Regions from separate parts of the Homo sapiens genome. Here region 1 is linked to region 2. The links are contacts of gene promoters, found by promoter capture Hi-C in blood cells and fetal thymus (Javierre and others, 2016). All regions are on one chromosome and are shown on one strand. The core of a region is centred on a gene start or on the middle of the fragment in contact, and the rest is flanking DNA. Distances in the headings are between cores, read along the strand shown.

What was found. Contacts are between HindIII fragments. The CHiCAGO score rates a contact against its expected background, and 5 or more counts as called.
Region 1: a fragment that was not itself captured here is called in contact with the fragment with the promoter of IL17RC in region 2 in 2 of 17 cell types (naive CD4 T cells and naive B cells); the score reaches 5.5 in naive CD4 T cells.

The regions. Positions count from the first base shown.
Region 1 is chr3:10,030,232-10,036,831 of GRCh38, reverse strand. It overlaps FANCD2 (FA complementation group D2), which reads right to left. Exons shown (of 44, transcript NM_001018115.3): 3 at 3,860-4,000; 4 at 2,296-2,363; 5 at 2,034-2,137; 6 at 1,599-1,659; 7 at 493-545. Among named protein-coding and RNA genes, the nearest start is that of FANCD2, 7.1 kb to the right of the region's middle. The HindIII fragment of the contact is 2,031 bases long and covers 1,886-3,916 here.
Region 2 is chr3:9,915,848-9,922,825 of GRCh38, reverse strand. IL17RC (interleukin 17 receptor C) reads right to left here and starts at 5,728. Exons shown (of 19, transcript NM_153460.4): 1 at 5,406-5,728; 2 at 5,092-5,113; 3 at 4,751-4,903; 4 at 4,417-4,491; 5 at 4,217-4,326; 6 at 2,224-2,335; 7 at 1,857-1,901. The coding sequence starts at 5,510. IL17RE (interleukin 17 receptor E) reads right to left here. Exons shown (of 16, transcript NM_153480.2): 16 at 6,429-6,978. It also overlaps the pseudogene RNU6-882P. RefSeq lists enhancers at 5,817-6,006, 5,936-6,475. The HindIII fragment of the contact is 19,830 bases long and covers 1-6,978 here.

The sequences.
Region 1 (6,600 bases), core at 1,652-4,151, 120 kb before region 2:
AGGTAAAGAAAAGTATTCAGAAAATACCTGATTCCAACCAACTGGCTACCCTCTTTGGAGACAACTACCATTACCAGTATATTGTGTATCCTTCTACTAGGGATTATCCCTGAGCATAAGCAACAGATACTTAAAAAAAAAAAAAAAATTCTGTTTTGAAATACAGACAAGGTCTCACTACATTGCCCAGGCTGGTCTTGAATTCCTGAACTCAAGCAATCCTCCTCCCTCAGCTTCCCAAACTGTTGGGATTACAGGTGTGAGCCACTGCACCAGGCCAATAGTTACTTTTAACAGTAATCCTATCTATTTTTACAAAGTCATATTAATAGATGAAACTTCAAAGACACTCCAGTAAAATTTTAGTAGTCACTTAAGAAATATAATGATAAATATGACTTTCAGAGAAACCAATAGTTTTCAGAGTAACCTTTTCAGAGAGAACTTAAGTACATCAGGGTACTTTGAACATTCCATAATAACGCCACTTACTTTTCAAAAAAATATTCTGGCAACTTCTCAAATAAGGTTTTGATAATGGCAGGCTAAAAAAGAAGACATAGGGAGTTAGGAGATGATCTCAAAATACACAATAGAAATGTATAATCCCAGCTACTTGGGAGGCTGAGGCACGAGAACCTCTTGGACCTGGGGAAGGCAGAGATTGCAGTGAGCCGAGATTGCACCACTCCACTCCAGCCTGGGTGACAAAGGAGACTCTGACTCAAAAAAAAAAAAAAAAAAAGAAATGTATAATTCTCTTTCCAACTAGAGCTCCTGGAATAAACACTTTGCTAAAGTTGATATCTTATTACAAGGATATCCACACGAATATGTCTTCATTTTTAGAATATGCTATTGGAATACAAAGACTTAATTTGTCTTCTGAAAAACTGAAAATGATTATCAAGGCAACGTTAAAATAATCAGATAATTAAAATATTATTAAATACAATAACTGTTAATCCACAAAATGCAAACTTTAAAAGATTATCAAATAACTTGCAAGGGGAGCTCTCAGGAGGAACAAGGGAGCTCTTAGACTTAAAATAACTAAATTATCTTCAAGATTTCCAGTGAAAAGGAAGAGTTTAAGAGTGTGAAAAGATTAACAGTAGGGGAGAAGAGGAAAAATGGAGAATGGGGTGGAGGGAAGTTTTCTGCTCTATATACATTTGTATAACTTGAGATATTTAAATCATATCAATGTATTGTCTACTTAATAAAAGAGACGAGGAGGAGGAAAAGGACAAAATTAAGTTACATAAGCATCTAAAAAGCTAAATGGGAGATAATGTAGATATGAATATGATAAAGATTACCAGATACTCAGAGATACACAGGATGCAGCTTTAAGAACAGGAATCAGATGCAGAGAGAATAAATGGGGCCGCCAGATGTATTAGGCTAATAAGCACAGTTTTAAAACACAGACATTACCCTACCAAACCCATCACAGCAACAGGGCTGTGCTAAAGCTGCTACAAACCCAAATTCTCCAATTAACCCTACTCTATCCTGTGTTCCCGCTATTTAGACTTGAGCATACACCACAAACCTCTTCCATCAAATGTTCACAGAAAAAGTGACAGTCTTACCTGCAGTATGTCAATCCCCAGAAGCAGTTTGATGAGACTCTTAGAATAAGATGCACCCATACTGTAAAAAAAAAAGAAATCTGTTTTCCACTTTGCTTTCCTTGTTTTAATGCTTTTATCATCTTTTCTCAATAAAATTGGTTAAATACATAATATTTAAAGAGGAACTACCCTGTTAGACAAGAAATACAGAAATGAGCAGATGGCTCTTTGCAAGGGAGAGGTAGAGATTTGAAATTCTGTCAGCATAGGTAAAACACTGATTGTTAGGCTCATAACCACAAGCTTAGGAATTTTAAACTTAGTTTAAACTCTGAGGAAAACAGAGCTTACACCAAAAATGAAATTTGAAACAACTGTGCTCTCCCTCCCCAGCCCCATGAAGTTGGCAAAACAGACTGAATTTCAGCAAGATTCCATGCCTCCTCTCCACACCTGGCTTCCTCATCCTGCAGACGCTCACAAGACAAAAGGCAGTTCCTGAAACTGTCTTCATCCTCAATGTAAGACTCCAGGCCACTAACAAATTCTTCTATTATCTTAAGGAGATTTAAAAAATAAAAAAGAATAAAATTTTTAGTTTAATATTTGCTGTTAAAAATCATTCTAGCCCACTCAACTTTATACCAGTGTCCTTAAATTCCAAATTCTAGAGTTATGCTGGCACAAGCAAAAATACCAGGGGAAAAATACATACTTTGGGATAGGAAGGGTGTCTCCTCAGGGTCTGAAAGAGCTTCTTTTGGAAAGCTATTTGATCCACAGCTATGCAGAAAAAAGAAGAGCTGGTCACCAGTTTCCTACCATAGTTTTCCTTCTCTAAAAACCCAAGTTTCTTGCCTGATGAAACCAATAAAAATATTTTCAACCTAATTTCAGAGACAAATCTTTTTTTTTTTTTTTTTTTTTGAGATGGAGTTTTGTTCTGTTGCCTAGGCTGGAGTGCAGTGGCGTGATCTCAGCTCACAGGAACTTCCGCCTCCTGGGTTCAAATGATTCTCCTGCCTCAGCCCCCCCAAGTAGCTGGGACTACAGACACGTTTTTTTTTGTTTTGTTTCGTTTTTTGTATTTTTAGTAGAGACAGGGTTTCACTGTGTTAGCCAGGATGGTCTCGATTTCCTGACCTCGTGATCCACCCTCCTCAGCCTCCCAAGTGCTGGGATTACAGGCATAAGCCACTGTGCCCAGCCCAGAGTCATGGGGTTGTGTCTAAACCCACATAAAAGACTTAGCTTTGGCTGGGCGCGGTGGCTCATGCCTGTAATCCCAGCACTTTGGGAGGCCGAGGCAGGTGGATCACAAGGTCAGGAGATCAAGACCATCCTGGCTAACACGGTGAAACTCCGTCTCTACTAAAAATACAAAAAATTAGTCAGGCATGGTGGCGGGCGCCTGTAGTCCCAGCTACTTGGGAAGCTGAGGCAGAATGGTGTGAACCTGGGAGGTGGAGCTTGCAGTGAGCAGAGATCGCGCCACTGCACTCCAGCCTGGGCGACAGAGCAAGACTCCGTCTCAAAAAAAAAAAAAAAAAAAAGACTTAGCTTTGATAGCAGATAGCCACTAAGTGTTCTAAAAAAGACCTGCCATAACCTTAGCAAGATAGAATAATCTGCTCCCCCAAAACAGAATCTTATATGGCTTTATAAATTTTCTTCTGAAATTATTCTGACACTGATACAGCTGCTTTCTGGATATTTATTTTTTCATAAGAAAACACAAAATAAATAATATATAATATTTTTTCTAATAAAAGGATGAGAAATGCTTTACTTAAGACATAGTAATGAGGACCAAAGACTGTACCATTTTCTTTTTCCATTTTTGTTTTTTGGAAATGGAGTCTCACTCTTGTCGCCCAGGCTGGAGTGCAGTGGTGCGATCTTGACTCACTGCAACTTTCACCTCCCGGGTTCAAGCAATTCTCCTGACTCAGGCGCCCAAGCAGCTGGGACTACAGGCACATGCCACCATGCCCGGCTAATTTTTTATATTTTAGTAGAGACGTGTTGCCCAGGCCGGTCGCAAATTCCTGAGCTCAGGCAATCCGCCTGCCTCGAGCCTCCCAAAGTGCTGGGATGATAAACGTGAGCCACCGCGCCCGGCCTGACTGTACCATTTTCTAAAAAGCAATTTCAACTTTGTCTCAAGATGGATGGCCCTCTGATTTCTAATCTTCATTGCCTCTCTATTTAGAAAACCCATGATTCAGTCCTGAACTATTTCATTAAACCCAGAGAATAAAATTAGATTAAAATATTACCTAGTTGATTCTGACTCTCTCCCGTTTTAAGAATAATTCCTGATATCTTAAGAAGCTTTACAAAGATGCTGTCATTTTCTTCAACTTCATTAGCAATATGAGATTTCTTTGTCTTTTTGGAAAGTGGTTGCTTCCTGGTTTCTGAAAATAGAAAAATTTTCAAGAATATGGCAAATAGTAAAGGAAAAATTAAAACTTAAACCCAGGAATAATAATCATGAGAGGAAAACTGATGTGTCCTTAAAAATTATACTAGGATTGATGCTGTAGTGAAATAAACTGTCTTCAGCAATAGTGGCTTCCAAAACAAACAAATAGAATTATTTTCACCTATTTTCATTTGAAGAATTCAAAATGTGCCATTTCTGGCCAGGCAAGGTGGCTCATGTGGTAATCCCAGCAAATTAGGAGGCCAAGGCAGGAGGATCACTTGAAGCCAGGAGTTCAAGACCAGCCTGGGCAACAAAGTGAGACCACCCCCCCATCTCCCCCCCTTCACCCCCATTCCCCCCCTCCACACACAAACTAGTTAGGTGAGGAGACGCACACCTGTAGTCCCAGCTACTTCGGAGGCTAAGGCGGAAGAATAACTTGAGCCCAGGAGGTTGAGGCTATAGTGAGCTATGATATTACCACTGCACTCCAGCCTGGGTGACAGAGTGAAATCCCCATCTCTAAAAAAATAAATTCAAACAAATAAGTGCCTAACAAGAATAACCCACAGAAATGTTTTCCACCCAAATACTAAACTAGCCAGTGTCTCTCAAGCTGTTGCCTGCAAACCACTGTACTGGAATCCCTGGGAAGCTTATTAAAATGCATATTTCCGACCCAGCACAGTGGCTCACGCCTGTAATCCCAGCACTTTGGGAGGCCGAGGCAGGCTGATTACCTGAGGTCAGGAGTTCAAGACCAGCCTGGCTAACGTGGTGAAACCCCATCTCTACTAAAAATACAAAATTAACTGGGTGTGGTGGCGTGCGCCTGTAATACCAACTACTCGGGAGGCTGAGGAGGAGAATCACTTGAACCCGGGAGGCAGAGGTTGCAGTGAGCCCAGATCGCGCCACTTCACTCCTGCCTGAGCAACAGAGTGACACTCTGTCTCAAAGGAAAAAAAAGGCATATTCCATGCCATATACCAGAGTTACTGAGTCAAAATCTTGGGAATGGGACCTAGGAATCCGAATTTTTTATGTTCTTCAGATAATAATCCTGATACACACCAAATTTGAGACTCAATGATCTGAATAAAGGGTAGACAGAATGGGGAAGGTTCTTTGTATCATATCTTTGACTACAATGCTCAGATAGGTTTAATCCCAAGACTTTCAACCCATAAAAAGAAATAAGAAACAAGAAACAAACAGGTACTTGAAGCCAAGTTTAAAATTTACTCTTCTCCCTTAATGATGCCATTTTGTTTTTTCCTTCTTCAATTCCTCTCCCTCTTTCTTTTTTTTTTTTTTTTGAAATGGAGTCTTGCTCTGTCGCCCAGGCTGGAGTGCAGTGGCGCGATCTTGGCTCACTGCAAGCTCCGCCTCCCGGGTTCATGCCATTCTCCTGCCTCAGCCTCCCAGTAGCTGGGACTACAGGTGCACACCACCACGCCCGGCTAATTTTTTGTATTTTTAGTAGAGACGGGGTTTCACCATGTTAGCCAAGATGGTCTCAATCTCCTGACCTCGTGATCTGCCCGCCTTGGCCACCCAAAGTGCTGGGATTACAGGCGTGAGCCACCGTGCCTGGCCTCCTTTCCCTCTTTCTAATAAAGCCTTAATCAGAATGAGACAAAGACCACTACCTTCCTGAATGAAATGTAAAACACAACCAGAATGAAAGTTTCAGTTTGTTCATTACTGACCAAGAGAACCCAAATCCCTTCTAATAAACTTAATTCAGAAGTCTCTTCTCTTTTGGAGAACAGTATTTCCAAAGTATAACATTTACTTTCAGTAATTTCCTATATTATTCCTCTTCAGTTTCAAATTTTCTACCAATTTCTCTATATTCTAATTCTAGAACCCCATTACTAATCAACCATTGGAGCTTCACAACTTCCTTTTTTTTTTGAGATAAGAGTCTTGCTCTGTTGCCCCGGCTGAAGGGCAGTGGCGTGATCTCAGCTCACTGCAACCTCCACCTCCGGGGTTCAAGCAATTCCCCTGCCTCAGCCTCCCGAGTAGCTGAGATTACAGACACGTGACACCACGCCCAGCTAATTTTTGTATTTTTAGTAGAGATGGGGTTTCACTATGTTGGCCAGGCTGATCTTGAACTCCTGACCTCAGGTGATCTGCCCGCCTTGGCCTCCCAAAGTGCTGGGATTACAGGTGTGAGCCACTGTGCCCGGCCCACAGTTTCCGTTTCTAAATCAAGCCTATTCCTTACATGGTTTTGGACTCACAATTTTTATCATTATAATCACTGTTCAGCAAGCATTTTCATCTATTTCGGTTGAATTGACCAAGAATCAGACTTAACTTCCAATAACCTAGTAAGAAATAACTCTTCAATCCACAAGTCAGTAGAAGCTAAGCTATGAGAATGCAAAGGCATTAAGAATGACATAATGAGGCCAGGCATGGTGGCTCACGTCCGATATCCCAGCACTTTGGGAGGCTGAGGTGGGTGGATTACCGGAGGTCAGGAGTTTGAGACCAGCCTGACTAACACGGTGAAACCCCTTCTCTACTAAAAATACAAAAATTAGCCAGGCATGATGGCATGTACATGTAATC
Region 2 (6,978 bases), core at 4,479-6,978:
TCTTCCCTCAAATATATGGCTCCTCCCTCACCTCTTTCAGGTCTCTGCTCACCAGAATGAGACCATCCCTGACCTCTACAACTCCCAACCTTCCCCAGCCCTTCCACAAATGTTCTCCTTAGTGCTAATCACTGTCTAACTTACTGCATTCTTCACATCTCCATGTGTTTGTTGTGTCCTTCCTCACCCCCACCCTGACCCTGACACCAGCTCCGTGGGGTCGGGTTTTTTGTCATCTTCATTTATTGATTTATTAATATTTCCAGTGTCCAGGGATTTGCCTGGTACACAGAAATTAATAAATATCTGTTGAATAAATGAATCAATGTCTACTTAATGAAGGAAGAAATGAAATCCATGATATACACATCTGTGTTTTCAAAACTCTGGTGTTGAATAGTCTTTAATGAGTTGCCAAAGAGGCAGGCCAACTTTAATTTTAAGAAGGCAAAAAGAAAATGAAGTTGAAAACATTTAGTAGTTCAGAAAACATCACAGTATGTGATGTATTCACAGTATTTATGTATTGATCTGGGTGCTAGTTATGCAAGTGTATACATATATAAAAACAAATTGGCCGGACGTGGCGGCTCATGCCTGTAATCCCAGCACTTTGGGAGGCCGAGGTGGGAGGATCACGAGGTCAGGAGTTCAAGACCAGCCTGGCCAGCATGGTGAAACTCCATGTCTACTAAAAATACAAAAATTAGCTGTGCGTGGTGGTGCACGTCTGTAATCCCAGCTGCTTGGGAGGCTGAGGCAGGAGAATCGCTTGAACCCAGAAGGCAGAGGTTGCAGTGAGCTGAGATCACACCACTGCAGTCCAGCCTAGGCGACAGAGCAAGATTCCGCCAAAAAAAAAAAAAAAAAAAAGAACTGGACATGGAAATCAGTACCCTTTGGCTGGGCGTGGTGGCTCACGCCTGTAATCCCAGCACTTTGGGAGGCTGAGGCAGGCGGATCACAAGGTCAGGAGATCAAGACCATCCTGGCTAACACGGTGAAACCCTGTCTCTACTAAAAAAAAAAAAAAATTAGCCAGGCGTGGTGGCGGGTGCCTGTAGTCCCAGCTACTCGGGAGGCTGAGGCAGGAGAATGGCGTGAACCTGGGAGGCGGAGCTTGCAGTGAGCCGAGATTGCACCACTGCACTCCAGCCTGAGCGACAGAGCGAGACTCTGTCTCAAAAAAAAAAAAAAAAAAGAAAATCAGTACCCTTTACATACTTTTATGTATGTATGTTATACACAATAAAAAAGAAAATACAAAACGAAAACAAAATCCAAATAGTACGTGGGAAAAAAGTTAGACCCTTGACTTTCTTAGCTTTTATTTCAAGTTTTTTGTTTTTGTTTTGTTTTGTTTTGTTTTTTGAGACGGAGTCTTGCTCTGTCACCCAGGCTGGTGTGCAATGGTGCAGTCTCAGCTTACTGTAGCCCCTGCCTCCCAGGCTCAAGTGATTCTCCTGCCTCAGCCTCCTGAGTAGCTGGGACCACAAATGCACACCACCATGTCCTGTTAATTTTTGTATTTTTGGTAGAGACGGGGATTTGCCATGTTGCCCAGGCTCGTCTTGAACTTTTGAGCTCAAGTGATCCTTCTACCTCGGCCTCCCAAAGTTCTGGGATTACAGGCATGAGCCACTGAGCCTGACCCAAGATTCATCTTTCTATTTCCAGTGCTTAGCACAGATACTGCAATTAATGTGTTATGAACAAATGAATGAATGAATGAATGAATGAATATGTTCTGTGAGCTTCTGAGATGTGGTAGCCCATATCTGAAGTGGACTCCAAGGGTTTCTTATACTCCAGACCCTGCCCCTCCCTACCCCCGGCCCACTGGCCCTAGCCCCTACCCCAGCAGCTCGGGATGCTGTTCCAGACTTCGAGCCCCCTGCAGTCTGAGGAGAGATCACAGAAGAGCCTCCAGTGGGGCTGGGGGCCAAGGAAAGAAGTGGGGGCAATTTGGCTCCCAGGGGGGCATTAGGAATGGCTCCCCATCCCCTACATACCACCCACATCTATCCAATGCTCAAAGAACCTTCCCCAGGGGCTGGAAAGCCATATCACCCAGAGAGAGAAGGTCCGAGGGACTGACTCTGGGGAGGATAGCAGCTCAGACCCCTGCCGGAGAGTGGATGGAGCTAGAAGAGGGTGAAATCAGGAGGGGGAATGGCCAGAGGGGACAGAGGCTAGGGGGCCAGGACTTGGGGGTCCACTTACCAGGCAGCTGCTGTGTGTGGTTGAGTTCCTTCTCGTACCTGGGCTGAGTATAGGACCAGATTCGTACCTCACTCCCTAGGGCAGCCTCGAAGCAGTCATATACCACAGAGCCCTGTGAGGAGAGGGGTGAGGAAGGCTGGCGGTGCAGGGCTCAGAATCCAGGCCAAGGGCTGTGGGATCATCTGCAGGGACCACTCTGCTCACTGCCCTCCTCCCCCAACTAATGACTGTATTTATACTGTATAGCCTGAAATCTACTATTCACCTTTCTTTCAAGGGGCCTCAATTCTAAAGCAAATGTCCTCAGTAAGAGTGTCACCAGGGCGGGAAAAGGCCCTAGACATTTAAATCCCTGCACCCACCCTGCTGTGCTAGATCACCTGGCCAAAGCTAAGGAGATGAGACACCCCAACACAATATGGCACACCCCTCCCCACAGAAGTGGTTCTCACACTCAACCCAGTGCCTCAGTGTTCCTTACAACTGCTTGTGACATGGACCAAGCAGATGTTCTCCCAGTCTACAATTCTCCAGATAGGATATTGGCTGGGGGCTGGAGGTTGGAGGGAAAGTCAAAGGGTTTGAGTGATTTGACCCCAGTGGAAATAGACCTTCCAGGTACATGTGGCCTCCTAAGGCAGGGAGAAGCCCCAACACCCTGCACCATGGTACTTACACCATGGTAAGTATACCATGGTATGTATGGTAGGACTCTTTCTTTGGTCCAAGAGTACAGAGAAGTGCATCCAGCCCACAGACCTCCCCTCTCCAAGCCTCATTTTATCTATCTGGAAAATGAGGATACTAATAATGCCTCATCAGGTAGTTTTGAGGATTACAAAAGAATTAAATTTATTGAAATTATTCAGTGCCAGGCATTACATCCAGTGTTTTACAGGTACCAACTTAATTTAATTCTCACAACAGTCATGTGAGGTGGGACTATTCTTTTTTTTTGAGACGGAATCTCGCTCTGTCGCCCAGGCTGGAGTGCAGTGGCGCGATCTCGGCTCACTGCAAGCTCCACCTCCCGGGTTCACGCCATTCTCCTGCCTCTGCCTCCCGAGTAGCTGGGTCTACAGGCGCCCACCACCATGCCTGGCTAATTTTTTGTATTTTTTTAGTGGAGGCAGGGTTTCACAGTGTTAGCCAGGATGGTCTCAATCTCCTGACTTCGTGATCTGCCCGCCTCAGCCTCCCAAAGTGCTGGGATTACAGGTGTGAACCACTGTGCCCGGCCAGAACTATTGTTTTTTTATGTGGCAAAAACAAAAACAAAAACAAAAACAAAAAAACTTTAAGAGATATTTCACAAGGAAGTTACACAAATAGCCAATAAGCATGTGAAAAAAGTGCTCAACTTCATCAGTCATTGGAAGATACAAATTAAAACCACAATGGCAAACCACTACATATGCAGAAAAATTATGACAATTACAACACTTATGCTTGTTTTGGCACCACATATACTACAACTGGAACAATACAGAAAAGATTAGCAAGGCCCGTGCCTGAGGATGACATGCAAATTCATGGAGGGTCCCATATATTTAAAATTCAAATATATTTAATTTAAAAATAAAATAAAATTACACCATCAAGTGTTGGCAAAGATGGGAAGCAACTAGGACTCCCATACACTGCTGGTAGGAGGGGAAAATAGTAGAAGCACCCTGAAAAACGCTTGGTGATTTCTCGCAGTCAAGCATATGAAGTAGAACTATTCTCATCCCCATTTTACAGACATAAAAGCTGAGGCATAACAGGCTGAAGGGACTTGCCCACAGCGCTGATCAGAATCAAAAGAATAGTCCCACCTCACATGGCTGTTGTGAGAATTAAATAAGTTGATACCTGTAAAACACTGGCTGTAATGCCTGGTACTGAAGGGTTTCAATAAATTTAATTCTTTTGTAATCCTCAAAGAGATAATGCATGTGAAAAAGTTTTATAGATTTTAGGTTTAGAAGGTGATTATTATTATTTTGCATACCACAGACTGACCAAACTGCACAAGGGCAGCAGGCACTTGCACCTCCAGCAGGACGCAGCGGGCAGTAGGGTAGGCCTGGAAGGAGAGCACGACTTGGGCCTGGAGAGAGGCTGTGGGCAACAGGGCAGGGGTCAGTCAGGCCCAGGAGCGGCAGGCCAGGCCTTGGCATGGGGCAGTTGGGCCAGCCAGGTTCTCCTCACCATTCCTAGGCTCCTCCACCCCTGAGTCAGCTGCTCCTCCAAACTTTTCCTCATCTTCAGGCTCTTCCCAGTGCCCTAGAAGGACCCAAGAGCAAGGCCCTGGGTGAGGCCCCCTGCTCTGGGCTGGCTGGCTTTGGCGTTGGCTTCCTTCTGGAAAGCCCAGTGCTGGGAAGCAGGGGCTGGGGAGACCACACTGGCCTGGGGGTCCTTCTGCTGGTGTCCTCCAGGAGAACACTGAGGATGCCTAGCACTGCTTGAGAGATCCCCTGGCCCTCATGCCCACCCCAGACACACTCACGTGTACACATGCACTGTCACAGGATGACTTGCTCACCATGCACGGCCAAGTGGACAGCCACACGCAGACAGAGGTCACAGTCGGTCTCCTTCTGGCACCTCAGCACCAGCTCTGTCTGCAGGTGCGTAGGCGCCAGCACGGGGCCCGGAGCAGGCACGATGTCCCCAGGCAGGCAGAGTATGTCACTGTCTGTGTGTGGAGGAGCGGGTGGGAGCTGAAGCTGTTCCAAGCCCAGAATTTGGTGGCACCTGACATACCCAGAGAGCCAAAGAACTTGGCTGTCCTAGGCTGAGGTGGGCATGGAGGGCATGGGCCTGGGACAGCTCTGCTCCCTTCGGCCAACCTGGGAAATTCTTTTTAAAAGTAGGGATACTTACCCCAGAGGCGGCAGGAGAGGCCCTGGGAAGGAAAGAAAGGAGAGTCAGAATTTGTGCCCCCACCATCTAGGCACTGTTCTCTGCCTAAGACCTCCACCTACCTTTTTCTGGGGCTCCGTATTCCCAGACCCTCCCAGAGAAAGACAGACCCAGCTCTTGCCCCTTCCCCGTTCTTCTCTTCTACCATCAGCACCAGACAGACCAGACAGGGCAGTTCTGGCAGTGGCAGCAGTGACAGGAGCCAGGCTAAGGCTTTGCTGAGCCAAAAACTGAACCCTGAGCCTTTCCTCGTCTCCCCAGGGTTCCAGACTCACCGGAGAGCAGTGGGTAGCGTCCTGAGGCCCCACAAGCCTCTCCAGAGAAAGGACCACTGGGCTTCGGCCCAGTGCCAAGGACAGCAAGAACCAGGGCACAGGCATCTTCTAGGTGCCAGGTGGCACCCAGGCCTGAGGCCCTGTGCTGCCCCCCCCCAAGGGGGGCAGACACCCCAGTCAGCCCGTGTCTGTGGGTGGCAGGGGCTGGAATCCCTCTTCAGCCTCCAGAGGGGGCGGAGGGGGCTGTGCTGGGTAGTTTGTGCACTCTCTGTCCTGGGAGTCCTGACTCTCCTCCTACTTCCAGCACGGAGTGCTTTCGTTTTGGCTCCCGGCAGGCTGCTGGCTGTTCCCGCCCCTCTCTGTCCCTCCCACCAACACCAGGCTTGGGAGCCAGCAGCCTTGGACTAGGGTGGTGGCCGCACCTCCTCCTTCTTTGGCTCTCCTCTCCCTCTGCTGACACCTGGCTGGGAGGGGCCCCTGAAGAAGACAGCGAATGCATCACGGCTGAGTAAGGGAGCTCTTACTCACCCCCGGAGCCCTAAGGAGGACACAGCCCTGGAGTCCTGGGCCCACTAAGTCTCCCCTTACTAGGCACACTCGGTCCCTTCAGACACTCTTTGGGCCTCGGTAACCCTTTGTGGGACAGGAGCTCTAAAAGCACGGACAAAAGGCACCAGAAAGTGGGCTTTTCACCACTGCCTGGCTCAAATGCGGTATGGGGAGTAGAAGGAACCCAGGACCCCAGAGCCTGGCAGACAGGGGTCCCATCTGTGCTGTTGCTGTGGGCCGGCTGTGTGATGATGGACACACCATCTGGCGAAGCCTCTGTTTTCCTCTCCTCTTGTAAGAATCACTGGGGGGGATCAAGGAGATTGCCCCATCCTCCTTTGCTTTTGGAGGCATTGCTTGTAAGAATGTGACGGATGCCATGCGGTATGGACACAGAGGATTTGGGCCAGCACACTGACACATACCCCACCAGGCAGGCTCCCCAGCCACACTAGAGAAGCACACTGTGTTTTCTTAGTTTGTCATGTTTGTCTTTATTCATCTTTCCGGATCTTGGTCCCCACCGCCAGCACCCACCCACCCCACCCCCAACCCCCACTGTCCTGACCACCTGGAGCCAAAAGCCTCTTTTCCTAGGTCCAGAGTCCTCTCTCCCTCTGGCCAGAGCCTCAGAGTGGGAAAGGGAATCCCTGGCCCCCAAGGAGGTTTTCTCTCAGCCGCCCCCTGCAATCCCCCACCGCCTCACCCTCCTTCAGAACTGACATGGCTCCTGCCTCCCTACCCCGGCCCCAACCTCTCCAGCCTGGACTGAAGCATAAGCACACTGCTCTTTCTGGAGTTCTGGAGAGGAAGTGGGAAGACCGCCCTCCCCCATCAGAACAGGGGTTAGAGGAGCTCTCAGTCAAGGGAAAGTATGAGGAGGAAGAGGGACGCGCGCGGGGACTGGGCTGGGACTTCCGGCCTGTGAGGCAGGGAATGCGGCTTTTCGGCCAGTCGTCCTCGAGGCACCCCAAGGATTTCAGGGTCGAAGGCTCATTCCGGGGTTCCAGCCAGTGTCCGTTGC